Regions from separate parts of the Homo sapiens genome. Here all the other regions are linked to region 3. Evidence: promoter capture Hi-C in 16 types of primary human blood cells and fetal thymus (Javierre and others, 2016). All regions are on one chromosome and are shown on one strand. Each heading gives the region's core, a stretch centred on a gene start or on the middle of the fragment in contact. The rest is flanking DNA. Distances are from core to core; before and after follow the strand shown.

Region 1 (5,047 bases), core at 1,195-3,694, 270 kb before region 3:
CTCTACTAAAAGTACAAAAAATTAGCCAGGCGTGGTGGCGGGCACCTGTAGTCCCAGCTACTCGGGAGGCTGAGGCAGCAGAGTGGCGTGAACCCGGGAGGCGGAGCTTGCAGTGAGCCGAGATCGTGCCACTGCACTCCAACCTGGGCGACAGAGCCAGACTCCGTCTCAGAAAAAAAAAAAAAAAGCTTCATTTGACCAGGTGGCTGGCGTGGTGGCTCACGCCTGTAATCCCACTACTTTGGGAGACCAAGGCAGGAGAATCGCTGGAGCCCACGAGTTCCAGACCAGCCTGCGCAACAAAGAGAAACCCTATCTCTACAAAATTACAAAAATACAAAAATAAGCCGGGCGCGGTGGCACATACCAGCAGTCCCAGCTACTTGGGAGGCCGAGGTGGGAGGGTCGCTTGAGCCTGGGAGGTCTAGGTTGCAGTGAGCCATGATTGCGCCACTATACACCGGCCTGGGTGACAGAAAACACCTTACTATCTCTTAAAGGAAAATTTACACCACTGGCTGAAAAAAAAAAAAAATTAGCCAAGCATGGTGGCGGGCACCTGCAAATTCCAGCTACTCGGGAGGTTGAGGCAGGAGAATCACTTGAACCCAGGAGGCGGTGGCTGCAGTGAGCCAAGATCACGCCACTGCATTCCAGCCTGCGTGACAGGGCGAGACTCTGTCTCAAAAGAAAAAGAAAGAATTAAATGTCTAGCGTGGAATCAGGGAGGCTGGGCGGTCTCCAGGCTCTTCCAGTGTCTTCTCCCCAGCCCAGGAGGCAGGCCGGCTCCCTGGCTACTCGCTCCCGCTGGGGCTCATCCTCACCTGCTCTGTGGCCTCAGGTAAGTGCCGTCCATCTCTGGACACTGGTTATCCCGGTGACCTAAACCTGGGCCCTTTTCGCCCACTCCACTCAGTATGTGGCTAATGGCGTGGCCCTCAGATTCGTCCAATCCACGTCTGAACCCCTTGTGCTCGGCCTCCATGTTACCATCTGTAACATGAGCATCTGAAAAGCAATTACCCAAGTCTGGGCGCGGTGGCTCACACAGGTAATCCCGGCACTTTGGGAGGCCGAAGCAGGTGGATCACCTGAGGTCAGGAGTTTGAGACCAGCCTGGCCAACATGGCGAAACCCCATCTCTACTAAAAATAACAAAAATTGGCCAGGTTCAGTGGCTCACGCCTGTAATCCCAGCACGTTGGGAGGCTGAGGCAGGTGGATCACGGGGTCAGGAGTTCAAGACCAGCCTGACCAACACGGTGAAACCCTGTCTCTACTACAAATACAAAAATTAGCTGGGTGTGGTGGCACGCACCTGTAATCCCAGCTACTCAGGAGGCTGAGGCCGGAGAAACACTTGAACCCAGGAGGCAGAGGTTGCAGTGAGCCGAGATTGTGCCACTGCATGCCAGCCTGGGTGACACAGCAAGACTCCATCTCAATAAATAAACAAATAAATAAAAATAAAAAAATTAGCCAGGCATGGTGGCGGGTGCCTGTAATCCCAGCTACTCGGGAGGCTGAGGCAGGAAAATCACTTGAACCTGGGAGGTGGAGGTTGCAGTGAGCTGAGATCGTGCCACTGCACTCCAGCCTGGGCAGCAAAAGCGAAACTCCGTCTCAAAAAAAAAAGCAAAAAAAAAAAAAAAAAGCATCTACCCAGGGGCCCAGGCGCGGTGGCTCACACCTGTATTCCCACAGCTTTGAGAGGCTGAGGCGGGAGCATCACTTGAGGCCAGGAGACAGAGGCCAGCCTGTGCAAATAGCAAGACTCCATCTCTACAAAAAATATAAAAAATGAGAAAGATGCATAGAGTGGACAGCACCTCTGGAGAGAAACTGTGCTGGTTTCAAGGGACATTAGCTGATGTTTTATCAACTTAAAAGGCCTCCAGGAAGAGATCATGGCCCCTGGACCTGGCCTCTGGGAGGTAGTACAATACCCTTGCTGGGGGGACGTCTTTGTCTTCCTCGTTCACTGCTGCCCAGGGTTGACCGGGGCTAAGGTGAGGCCTGAGGGCACCGAGGGAGCCCCGGAAAGAGGCCTCACATGTGCCCAACACGGGCAGCTCGATGTCATTTCCTTTCTTTTTTTTTTTTTGAGACAGAGTCATGCTCTGTCGCCCAGGCTGGGGTGCAACGGCACGATCTAAGCTCACTGCAACCTCCGCCTCCTGGGTTCACAGGATTCTCCTGCCTCAGCCTCCCGAGTAGCTGGGACTACAGGTGCGTGCTACCACGCCCGGCTAATTTTTGTATTTTTAGTAGAGACGGGGCTTCACCATGTTGGCCAGGTTGGTCTCCATCTCTTGACCTTGTGATCCGCCTGCCTTGGCTTCCCAAAGTGCTGGGATTACAGGTGTGAGCCCCAGCGCCCGGCCTCGTTTCATTTTCATAACTGTCCTCTGGCTGCCGGTGACCTTTCCAGATTCAGTGAAGGTCAGACACCATTTCTGCTCTCCTTACCCTCCCCTTCCCCCAGGAGGCCCTGCATGGCCTGAAACCTCCCTGCTTCCTCCCTCTCCCTCCTCCCTCTCCCCTTCCTTTCTCCCCCTCCTCCCTCTCTCTCCTGCCTCACTCTCTCCCCCAGCTCACTCTGCTCCAGCCACATGGGCCTCCTCACTGTTCCTCCAACACACCAGGCGCGATCCTGCCCCAGGGCCTTTGCACCGGCTGTGCTCACTGCCTTAACCACTGTCCCCACATTTCCACATGATGTAATAATCCTTGTCATTCCAATTTCACTCAAAAGCCCCCTCCAGGCCGGGCGCAGTGGCTCACGCCCATAAACCCAACACTTTGGGAGGCTGCGACGGGGAATCACCGGAGGTCAGGAGTTTGAGGCAAGCCTGGCCAACATGGTGAAACCCTGTCTCTACTAAAAATAAAAAAATTTAGCCAGGTGCCTGTAGTCCCAGTTACTCAGGAGGCTGAGGCATGAGAATTGCTTGAACCCAGGAGAAGGAAGTTGCAGTGAGCCGAGAACACATCACTGCACTCCAGCCCGGGTGACAGAGTCAAACTCAAACAGGCCGGGCGTGGTGTCACACCTGTAGTCCCGGCACTTCGGGAGGCCGAGGCGGGCAGATCTCCTGAGGTTAGGAGTTCAAGGTCAGCCTGGCCAATATGCCAAAACCTGATTTCTACTAAAAATACAAAATTTGGTGGCATACCTCTCTAGTCCCAGCTACTCAGGGAGGCTGCAGCAGGAGAATCGCTTGGACCCAGGAGACGAAGGTTGCCGTGAGTCAAGATAGGGCCTCTACACTCCAGCCTGGGTGACAGAGCAAGACTGTCTCAAAAAAACAAACAAGCAAACAAAACAAAACCTCAAAGTCCCTCCTCAGGGAGCCTCCAGTGTGGACTCAATTGTAAAACAGCACCCAGCCATTGATCACCATCTGAAGGCAGCCCACCTACTTGACCACTTATTATCCAACTCCCACAGTGGACTGCGAGCCCCATGGCGTCCAGGCCAGCGTCTCTTGCACACGCCTGTATCCCTGAGCCTGGCACAGGACCTGGCAGAGCAGAGTTCAAGTGTTCGCTGAATCGATAGTTGAATGAAACTAATCCGGCCGGGCACAGTGGTTCATGCCTGTATTCCTAGTGCGTTCAGAGGCTGAAGTGAGAGGATTGCTTGAGGCCAGGAGTTCAAGACCAGCCTGGGCAACATGGCAAGATCCAATCTCTACAAAAATATTTACAAAATGTAGCCGGGCATGGTGGCATTTGCCTGCAGTCCCAGCTACTTGGGAGGCTGTGGCAGGAGGATCACTTGAGCCCAGGTCAAGGCTGCAGTGAGCTATGATTGCACCACTGCACTCCAGCCTGGGTGACAGAGCAAGACCCTATTTTATGTTTTTTGAGTCAAAGTCTCGCTCTGTCGCCCAGGCTGCAGTGCAGTGGCATGATCTTGGCTCACTGCAACCTCCGCTTCCCAGGTTCAATGGATTCTTCTGCCTCGGCCTCCCGAGTAGCTGGGACTACAGATGTGTACCACCACCCCCGGCTAATTTTTATATTTTTAGCAGAGACGGGTTTTCATCATGTTGGCCAGGCTGGTCTCAAACTCTGACCTCAAGTGATCCTCCTGCCTCTGACTCCCAGAGTGCTGGGATTACAGACGTGAAGCCACCATGCCGGGTGTGAGACCCTGTCTCTAAAAAAAAAAAAAAAAAGGAAAAATTACCTGTGTATGTTAGCAGGGAAGATGATGGGCTGGCTTTTCCTCTAAAATGGGGTTTGCCTGGGTCCACGATGGGGCCAAAGCCACCTTCTGCCTGCACAGAGGTGGGCAGCCACTGTCCACTCTTGGCCCTGCTAAGCTCCTGGAGAATCACGCAGGACCCCAAGAAGGTCAAACCCCTGGACCCTAGAGCCCCCTGAACTGGTAAAATTTGGTCCAGGGAGGCACAGCCCCCATGCCCCAGGGCCACACAGCACGTGGGGGCCGAACCTGGCCTCTGCTCGCCGCCCAGGGAAGCCCAAGCACTGCCCCCACCATTCCATCCCCAGTGGCCAGCGGCCCCATGCTCCGGGGTCAGGTAAGCACTGCCCCCGCCATTCCATCCCCAGTGGCCAGCGGCCCCATGCTCCGGAGTCAGGTGAGCCTCTTTCTTTTCCTGCAACCCTGCCCTGCCTGCCTTTCGCTCTGGGTCCATCCCCTCCCTCCTCTCCCTCCTGAACAAGCTTCTCCTGCCACATGTTTTGGGGAGGCAGAGACCCCGTGCTGGGTTTGAGGCTCTGTTGCCGATTCCTAGGGGACCCTGGTGGGGGGGTGGGTTCCCTGCCTGTTTCTGAAGTTCCCTGGTCTGAGAAGAGGCAGCTTTGACTGCAGGGATGTGGGTCTTGCTCAGGAAGCCCCCAGCAGTCCAGGTCTTGGTCCAGGCCACACACTGGTTCTGGAAGCATCTCTGTAGCCCCTCCTCTGCACTCCAGGAACACAGCGGTGGAGGGGGAACAGGATGAGCCCATCCTTCTCTGCCTCCACTTGTGCCAGCCCAGTCACCTCTACCCGGTCCTAGGCTAAACCCTCGCCACT
Region 2 (4,968 bases), core at 726-3,225, 280 kb after region 3:
AATTAAAGTTTCTACAATATGCTTTTTGGGAGACACATTCAAACTATAGCAACATCTGCTTGGAGGAGTCATGTGGATCAGCCCTTCCTTCCCTTTGCAGATGTACCAGTTATCTATCACTGTGTAACAAATTACCCCAACACTTAGCTTAAACAGCAAGCATTTACTATCCTGCAGTTTCTGTGGGTCAGTGGGATATTATATTACTTGCATTATATTTATTATATTATTTGGTCTTTGTCCTGATTTTTTTCTGGTGCAGAACTCCTAAAATCCTTGGAATCTGCAAAGTCATGTCTTTTTGTATGATGATAAGTCGACTGATGGCTGACAGCTTCTAGTTATTTTCAGGAATGGTCTGGCCACCAGAAAGATCAAGGCAGGATGAGAGGGCTGGAACCTTTAGCTGTACCCTCCAGCCTCTGGGGAGGGGAGAAGGGCTGAAGGTTGAGGTGATGACCAGTGGCCAGTGACGCGATCAGTCATGCCTATGAAGTAAAGCCTCCATAAAACTTCAAAAGGACGGGGTTTGGAGAACTTTGAGATAGCTGAGCACATGGAGGTTCCTGAAGGGTAGCATGCCAAGGAAGCTTTGCCCTTCTTCCCTATACCTCATCCTATGCATCTTTTCGTCTGTATTCTTTGTAATATGCTTTATATTAAACCAGTAAATGTGTTTCCCTGAATTCCGAGAGCTGCTGTAGTAAATTAAACCCAACCCTAACTTCAAGCTGGTCAGTTGGAAGTTCTGGAGGCCCAAACTTGCTACTGGTATCTGAAGAGGTTAGGGGCAGTCTTGTGGGGGGATTTAGCCCTCAACCTGTGGGGTCCAAGGCTGTCTCCAGGTAGATAGCACCTGAATTGAATTGAACTGAATCGAATTAGGGGACAGCTAGCTGGTGTGTGGGGAAACTCCTCTCACATTTGGTCACAGAAATATCTTGGGTTGATTTTTTTTTTTTTTTTTTTTTGAGATGGAGTCTCGCTCTGTCGCCCAGACTGGAGTGCAATGGTGCAATCTCTGCTCACTGCAGCCTCCGCCCCCCAGGTTCAAGTGATTCTCCTGCCTCAGCCTCCTGAGTAGCTGAGATTACAGGTGCCCACAACCACGCCTGGCTAATTTTTGTATTTTTGGTAGAGACAGGGTTTCACCGTGTTGGTCACGCTGGTCTCAAACTCCTGATCTTAAGTGATCCACCTGCCTTGGCCTCTGAAAGTGCTGGGATTACAGGCGTGAGCCACTGCACCTGGCCATGTTGATTGCTGTTGATGTGAGAGCAAGAGGAAAAGCAATTTGAGTTTGAGTTTTTTCCACCCTCACTCAGGAGTTAGGAAGCAGCTCCACTGGGTGATTCTGGCAGTGAATGTGCTGGGGCTGTATCATCTGAAGGCTCGATTGGAGCTGGAGGAGCTGCTTTCAAGAGGGCGCCCTCATGTGGCTGTTGGTGGAGGCCTCAGCTTCCAACTGGCCTTGACAGGAGGGCAAAATGCCCAAATGAGTCGTTCCTTCCTTCTTTCCTTTTTTCCTTCCTTCCTTCCTTTTTTTTTTTTTTTTTTTTTAATGGAGTCTCACTTTGTCAGCCAGGCTAGAGTGCAGTGGCACAATCTTGGCTCACTGCAACCTCTGCCTCTTGGATTCATGCAATTCTTCTGCCTCAGCCTCCCGAGTAGCTGAGATTACAGGCATAATTACAGTAATTAGCCAATTACTGGCTAATTTTTATATTTTTTTTTAGTAGAGATAGGGTTTCACTGTGTTGGCCAGGCTGGTCTCAAATTCCTGATCTCAAATGACCTGCCCCAACCTTGGCCTCCCAGAGTGCTGGGATTATAGGCATGAGCCACTGTGCCCAGCCTGGAGGGCCCATTTCTTTCTTTCTTTCTTTCTTTCTTTCTTTCTTTCTTTCTTTCTTTCTTTCTTTCTTTCTCTTTCTTTCTTTCTTTCTTTCTTTCTTTCTTTTCTTTCTTTCTTTCTTTCTTTCTTTTCTTTCTTTCTTTCCTTTTCTTTTTTTTTTTTTTGAGACAGAGTTTTGCTCTTGTTGCCCAGGCTGGAGTGCAGTGGCACGATCTTGGCTCACTGCAACCTCCGCCTCCCAGGTTCAAGTAATTCTCCTGTCTCAGCCTCTCTAGTAGCTGGGATTACAGGCATGCACCACCACGCCCGGCTAATTTTGTATTTTTAGTAGAGACAGGGTTTCTCCATGTTGGTCAGGCTGACCTCGAACTCCCAACCTCAGGTGATCTGCCCGCCTCGGCCTCCCAGAGTACTGGGATTACAGGTGTGAGCCAACGTGCCCGGCCTGGAGGGCCCATTTCTGCAACACATGGATTTCTTCACAGCACTGCCTGCATTTCCCCACAACATGGCAGCTGGCTTCCCCCAGAACACATGACCCAAGAAAGAACAAGCAAAAGTCACTGTGTCTTTATTTATTTATTTGAGACAGGGTCTTCCTCCATTGCCCAGGCTGGAGTGCAGTGGTATGAGCATGGCTCCCCACAGTCTTGAACTCCTGGGCTCCAGTGATCCTCCTGCCTCAGGCTTCCAAGTAGCTGTGATTACAGGGGCACACCATCACGACTGGCTAATTTTTGTATTTTTTGTACAGATGGTGGTGGGGTGTTGGTGGTGGGGGTGTCTCACTATGTTGCCCAGGCTGGTCTTGAACTCCTAGGCCCCCATCCTCCCATCTCAGCCTCCCAACGTGCTGGGATCACAGGCGTGAGCCACCACACCCAGCCTCGTCTACTTTCTAGCTTGTCTTCTTGTACCTTTGAGGGCAGGAACATGGTAAACAGATGAAAAATATACGTCCAGTTTCTCCCTTCCCTGTGGTTTTGGAGCAGGAGGATGAAAAGGTCTTACCCACAGCATCAACCCTTCAATGGAAGGAATTGTGTTTCTCCCACAGGGAATCAGGATTGGAAAGGGATGAGGCTCAGGGAGAATTACACAGAGCCTTGTGGGTGTAACGGGGATGAAGATGTGTTATCTCCCACTTGATGCCATCTTGCAGAAATAAGCTAATCATCTCCAGAATATGCTTTCGTTCACCAAATGGGATTTACACATGCATCCTAGGCTAATCTGCCTTCCACGGATGGCAGGTTCTGTGAGTAATCCGACAGAGGCTAATTGGGACGGATTCCATGAGGACTGCTGTGTGATCCGCTCGCCGCCATGGCCCCTCGGTGAGGAGGATGGCTCTGGTGTGGGTTAATCCAGGCTTAAGTGGCCAGGAGATTTTGATCCTCATGGTATTACATTGTGATGATACTCACAGGGGCTCGGGGGAAAGCAGAAAATCCATTTGGCCAAGACTGACCAGTCTTCTCTCTGGGGCTTATTCAGGAAGCTTGTGGAAGGGGATCCAGTCATAAATGTCAGTGCTTACGGATCATGTTGTCTAAAGTGGGTGTCTCTCCTTTCCTCTTCCTTCCCTCATCCCTCCCTCCCTCCCTCCCTTCCTTCCTTCCTCCATCCCTCCCTCGCTCACACTCATTCCCCTTCCCTTCCTCTCTCCCTCCCTCTCACTCTGTTTTCCTCTCTCTCCCACCCTTTCTCCCTCTTCCTCTCCCTTCCTCTTTCCTTCCCTCCCTCTTTCCCTCCCCTCCTCTCTTTTTTTTTTTTTTTTTTTAAGATGGAGTCTCACTCCTCTATTTCCCAGGCTGGAGTGTAGTGGCGTGATCTCAGCTCACTGCAACCTCCGCCTCCCAGGTCCAAGCGATTCTCCTGCCTCAGCTTCCCAAGTAGCTGGGATTACAGGCAAGTGCCACCATGCCTGGCTAATTTTTGTATTTTTAGTAGAGATGGAGTTTTGCCATGTTGGCCAGGCTGGTCTCAAACTCCTGTCAAACTCCTGACCTCAGGTGATCCCCCCATCTCAGCCTCTCAAAGTGCTGGGATGACAGACGTGAGCCACCGCGCCCGGCCCTCCTCTCCTTTATTTAAAAAAAATCAAGGCCAGGCGCAGTGGCTCACGTCTGTCATCCCAGGACTTTGGGAGGCCAAGGTGGGCGGATCACGAGGTCAGGAGATTGAGACCATCCTGGCTAACCCGGTGAAACCTCGTCTCTACTAAAAATACAAAAAATTAGCCAGGTGTGGTGGCGGGCGCCTGTAGTCCCAGCTACTCGGGAGGCTGAGGCAGGAGAATGGCATGAACCCGGGAGGTGGAGCTTGCAGTGAGCCGAGATTGTGCCACTGCCCTCCAGCCTGGGTGACAGAGCGAGACTCCATTTCAAAAAAAAAAAAAAATCAGAACGCTTGGTTCGTGATACAACTCTCACAATTTGTCTCTTCAAGTCCCCCTTTTAATAGACTATTTTTAGAGCAGTTTTAGGCCTAAAGAAGAATTGAGCAGAAGGCAGAGTTCCCACCTATCTCCTCTCCCCGAAAAGGTACGCATTTCCCCCAATGTTACCCTCTCTCATTAATGTGCTACATTTGTTACAACTAATGAGCCAGTGGATACATGATTATTGACTAACAGCTACAGTTTACATTTGGTGTGGCTCACTCTCTAGGGACCTCCTAAGCGTGGAGTTACACAGGATTTGTCCTTTTGCATCTGGCTCATTTCACTGGGCGTGATGCCCTCAAAGTTCATCCACTCTCTAGCCCATGTCAAAATTTCCTTCCTTTTTCAGGCTGAATCATATTCCGTGGCATAATGGATGACATTGTGTTTATCCATTCATCTCTCGGTGGTCACTTGGGTGTCTCTGCCTTTGGGGTGTGGTGAATCGTGCTGCTGTGAACACGGGGGTACATTTTGGTTTCGGGGGATGTACCACGTTTTGTTTATACTTGGCTTATTTTTATAAAGCTCGGGGCTAAAAAGCCTTTTCCATTTTAAAAGTGTTGTAAAAAAACAAATAACAAAGAGGAATATGCAACAGTGACCCTTTAGCTCACAGAGCATAAAATACTTACTTTTTGTCCCTTTGCAGAAAAAATTTGCAGAC
Region 3 (4,957 bases), core at 2,000-4,499:
CATCTCTGTCTTCACAAATTACCTGATATGTTGAGTAATGTGAGTATAACACGAATTTCATATTTGTTTATGTTCAGTTTCAACCCTAAGAAACACTAAGTGAACAGAAGAAATTGCACATAACTGAAGAGTCTGGTAGGAAAACAGAAAATGCGCGCACACACCTCAAATACCAAGTCACACTGTTTCCTCTGCTTTAAAACTTAACATTAGATTTCCGACAACCCTCTCTCCACCACTGCATACTAACTCTGGAAATTTAGATTCCCTTGCCCAATTCCACAAGCAACCTTTGGATCTTCTGCAAGGTACGTTGCTACATTTATTATAGTATTTATGTGTTTCTTTTCCTTTTTTTTTTTTTTTTTTTGAGACAGAGTTTTGATCTTGTTGCCCAGGCTGGAGTGCAGTGGCATGATCTCGGCTCACTGCAACCTCCACCTCCTGGGTTCAAGTGATTCTCCTGCCTCAGCCTCCCGATTAGCGGGGGTTCCAGGCATTTGCCACCATGTCCAGCTCATTTTTGTATTTTTAGTAGAGATGGGGTTTCTCCATGTTTGTCAGGGTGGTCTCGGACTTTGGACCTCAGGTGATCTGCCCACCTTGGCATCCCAAAGTGCTGGGATTACAGGCGTGAGCCACCGCGCCCGGCCTATTTATGTGTTTCTTAATGATGTAAGGTGAAAAGCTGTGCTACTGTTTACTTCTTCAGGGACTCTGATAATAGGCATGTTTTTCTTTCCTGTCTTTTGTTCCCACTGCTTCCTCTCTGACAGTTATTCCACTGTTTCCTATCACTTCCAATTTCTTTGTAGTTTCCTTGCCTCTTATCTTTGACACAATGTGAGTATCCTAAGCTTCATTAATATCCATTGATGAAGGCTGAGGCAAGCGGATCACTTGAGGTCAGGAGTTCCAGACCAACTTGGCCAGCATGGTGAAACCCCATCTCTACCAAAAAATACAAAAATCTGCCAGGCATGGTGGTGCAACATAAGACAAGCTTTGAGTAGCAAAAGATTGGAAACAAGTCCACTGTCTATTTAGAGAGACCTTGTTACATCAGCTTACATCATCTTACATCTGTAAGGAGTAAGGAAGTCACCTATTAAGATGAAGAGAGGTGGAGGATTTATTTTTTTCATTGAGCCACAAAAACAATTGTAATGCAATGTGTACACCATGGTACTTTTTAAAAATAATAAAGCGGGGGGAAACAAAACGTGTCGTTCAAATGGCGTTTTTTTGTTTGTTTTTGTTTTGAGATGGAGTCTCGCTCTGTCACCCAGGCGGAGTGCAGTGGTGCGATCTTGGGTCTGCAATCCCCGCCTCCCGGGCTCTAGTGATTCTCCTGCCTCAGCCTCCCAAGTAGTTGGGATTACAGGCATGTGCCACCACGCCCGGCTAATTTTTATATTTTTAGTAGAGACAAGGGTTTTGCCATGTTGGCCAGGCTGGTCTCGAACTCTTGACCTCAGGTGATCCACCTGCCTCAGCCTCCCAAAGTGCTGGGATTATAGGCGTGAGCCACTGCGCCCGGCCCTAGAGAATTTCTTAAAGTAAAAGGCTGTACTGTTCCTATGGTAATTGAATTCTTATTTTAACTCATTTGAGAAAATAATCATAGAAGTTTAAATAAATTTGAACTCGACGTGAAAATTCTGAATACTTTTATTCAGTTGAGCCGCAATTCCTAAAGCCTGGAACGCGACTGCTCATCTCCGAAAAGACTTTCCAGCTTGAGACAGAGTAGAAGTATAAACTCTATATCGCTTGCCATTTTACATACAAACATAATTGTCGTAATTCATGTTTTTACTGTGTCGACCTAAATAACAGGCTGTCTAAAAACGGTGGTAACAGTTCATTGCAGTGGGAATATGCGCGGCATAGCAAACTATGTGCTTATTCAGGGAGGTAAAGGAAGACAAAGGTTGTTTTTGGTTTTCATTTTTTTGAGACGGGGGTCTCTGTTGCCCAGGCTGGAGTACAATGGTGAGATCACAGCTCACTGCAGCCTCAATCCCCACGGGCTCGAGCGATCCTCCTGCTTCAGCCTATCAAGTCGTTGGGACCATAGGCGCACACTCCTTTATTCCCAGCTAATTTTTGTATTTTTTGTATATATGGGGTTTTGCCATGTTGCCCAGACTGGGACAAAGGTTTATAAAGGAAAAAAAAAATTTTAAATGAGGATTACATCATTTTTCAGAAATAATTATCCTTGTCTACAAAGATCAGTAACAAGGGTCACACCAGTCTGAGTGTCCCTGTAAAAGTATTTTTTGTTTAAGCCTGTGGTTTTTGTAGAGTCTTTTTCGTTATTAAGCATATAAATGTGAGACCTCTCTCTTCATGACCTTACGTGGTTCTGTTTGTGGGAGGGCTGCTTTTTTTTTTTTTGAGACTCAGTTTCGCTCTTGTTGCCCAGGCTGGAGTGCAGTGTCCTGATCTTGGCTCACTGCAATCTCCGCCTCCTGGGTTCAAGCGATTCTCCTGCCTCAGCCTCCGGAGTAGCTGGGATTACAGGCGCCCGCCACCGTGCCCAGCTAATTTTTGTATTTTTAGGAGAGAAGTGGTTTTCGCCATTTTGGTCAGGCTGGACTTGAACTCCTGACCTCTGATGATCCGCCGGTCTCCGCCTCTCACGGTGCTGGGATTACCGGCGTGAACCACCGCGCCCGGCCGAGAGTTTTAAGAACACAGGGAGCGCCTGGTGGGGTCCGGCCTCCTGGGGCCTCGTCGTCTGGTCTCCAGATCTCCAGGTCTCTGGACCCCAGGCGTCCGCGCCCACGCGGGACAGCACGGTGACGTCACGCACGCGGGTCCCGCCCCCACGCAGGACTCCGCCCCATGGGACTCCGTGCCCTTCCTCTCCTCCCCGCACGAGGGGCCGCTCCGAGGGGAAACTGAGTCTGGAGTTGCCGTGCAGTCAGGGAGGAGGACGCCGCGCCCTCCCTGGACTGGAGTGAGTTCTCCCAGATCCGCGGCTGCCCGGCTAGAGGGTCAGCCACGCGTGTTCTCGACGAGCCCGTCACTGAGGAGAGAATTATCCAATCAGGACAGGCAGGGGCGGGGCCTAGGGAACTGTCCAATCAGAGACGTTAATCCGAAGCGGAGCCCTGCCCAATCAAGGGCGCTAGGGGGACGGACTGGAGAATTCTCCAATCAGGGGTGCGGAGTCGACAGCACTGTCCAATCAGAGTCTCCACTTCCCGAGATCTGTCCAATCAGACCCCGAGGACGGTAAGCCGAGTTCCCCTCTGCCTTGCGCGCTTCCCCGCCTACCCCGAGCGGCTCAGGTGTCCTGTCGTGCTCACCTGCGCCGGTCGCTGGACCGCGGGGCGCTAACCCTGGAGAGCCCAGGAGCGGGCGGGACATGGTGAGTGCCGGGCGGGAGCCGAGCCCGGGCCCAGGGCGAGGTGGGGCGGCAGGAACCGGCTTCCGCCCGAGTTCGCAGCCGGAGAAAGCTGAGGGACGCGCGGGGCGGCGCACGACGAGCGCCTGGGCCCCGGGGACGTGGTCACAGCGGCCGAGGGGTAGGGCTGGGGGCAGTCTGGGGTGACAGCAAAAGCGGTCAGGGGCTCGAGGGGTAGTTTCTGGGGACAGTACAGGTCAGGAGTTTGGGGAGAGCTTGTGGGGACAGCAGAGGTGGTCAGGGGCTTGAGGCAATTTAAGTGGACAGTAGAGGTTTAAGGGGCACAGGGGCAGTTTGCGGGAACAGACACGGTCAGGGGCTCGGCGGCAGTTTGGGGGTTCAGTGGAAGGGAGTCAGGCTCAAGGGCAGATTAGGGGGCCAATAGCAGCGGTCAGGAACTCGGGGACAGTTTGAGGGGGCCGTAGAGGCGGTCATGGGTTTGAAGGGGCAGTTTTGGGGGACAGGTGATCAGGGGCTCGAAGGCAGTTTAGGGGGACAGTAGCTGCAGTCGGGAGTTTGGGGGCAGCTCGAGGGGACAGCAGAAGCAGTCAGGGGCTCAGGGGCACTTTAAGGGGGGCAGTAGAGGCGATCAGGGGCTTGAGGGAAGTTTGGGGGGACAGTAAAGGGAGTCGGGCTCGAGGGATGTGTTGGGGGACAGTAGAGGCAGTCAGGGGATCGGGGAGAGTGGGAGGAGAGGGCAGGAGCCGTCAGGGGCTTGGTGGTCAGTTTGGGAAGGTCTGCCAAGGAGGAGGTGGTGCCCTGTCCTGGAGCCTGTCAAATAATAAAATCCTGGGCCGGGCGCGGTGGCTCACGCCTGTAATCCCAGCACTTTGGGAGGCCGAGGCGGGCGGATCACCTGAGGTCAGGAGTTCCAGACCAGCCTGGACAACATGGCGAAATCCCGTCTCTACTAAAAATACAAAAATTAGCCCGGCGTGGTGGCGGGCGCCTGCAATCCCAGCTACCAGGGAGGCTGAGACAGGAGAATGGCGTGAACCTGGGAGGTGGAGCTTGCAGTGAGCCGACATGGCGCCGCTGCACTCCAGCCTGGCGACAGAGAAAGACTCCGTCTCAAAAACAAAAACCAAAAAAAAAAAAAAAAAAAAAAATCCTGGCTAGAGAAGGAGAGAGAAAAATAGGGATAAGCCCCAGCCTCCGAAACCTGCCAGGTCTCAAAATCAACCAGGAAAAGGCTTTACTTTCATACACAAGAAAAGGTTTGGAGGAACGTTTTAGGGGACAAGCAGAAAGGAGGTTGACAGTAAATGTACCTCCTCGTGGTCAGCTAGCTCAGGGGAGGTGACAGGGGACTCCACACTTACTGCTTGCTCAGACTCGGGGGGGCCAAAGTTCAGGGGCCTGCGGAGAGGACAGAAGGCTGAGTAAAGTTTGGGGAAGAAACGGGAGGCTGCGAACATGTGGTCAAGCTTGTGTAAACCCAAACGTAGTAAGGAAACTTTTATGAAAAAGGATTATTGCGAGGTATTGGGGGAGGGGGAGAAGGGGCTGTTGCAATAGGGAGAAGGGTTAGTTGGATTA

What was found. Contacts are between HindIII fragments. The CHiCAGO score rates a contact against its expected background, and 5 or more counts as called.
Region 1: a contact is called between a fragment that was not itself captured here and the fragment with the promoter of ZNF77 in region 3, in 1 of 17 cell types (megakaryocytes). The highest score is 6.1, in megakaryocytes.
Region 2: a contact is called between a fragment that was not itself captured here and the fragment with the promoter of ZNF77 in region 3, in 1 of 17 cell types (megakaryocytes). The highest score is 5.4, in megakaryocytes.

Annotation. Positions count from the first base shown.
Region 1 is chr19:3,210,908-3,215,954 of GRCh38, reverse strand. No RefSeq gene overlaps it. Among named protein-coding and RNA genes, the nearest start is that of CELF5, 11 kb to the left of the region's middle. The HindIII fragment of the contact is 4,507 bases long and covers 191-4,697 here.
Region 2 is chr19:2,658,263-2,663,230 of GRCh38, reverse strand. The region is part of intron 1 of GNG7 (G protein subunit gamma 7); the gene reads left to right. Among named protein-coding and RNA genes, the nearest start is that of MIR7850, 30 kb to the right of the region's middle. The HindIII fragment of the contact is 2,766 bases long and covers 593-3,358 here.
Region 3 is chr19:2,943,263-2,948,219 of GRCh38, reverse strand. It overlaps ZNF77 (zinc finger protein 77), which reads left to right and starts at 3,249. Exons shown (of 4, transcript NM_021217.3): 1 at 3,249-3,382. The coding sequence starts at 3,380. RefSeq lists an enhancer at 2,854-3,013 and silencers at 3,084-3,333, 3,474-3,553. The HindIII fragment of the contact is 3,842 bases long and covers 1,006-4,847 here.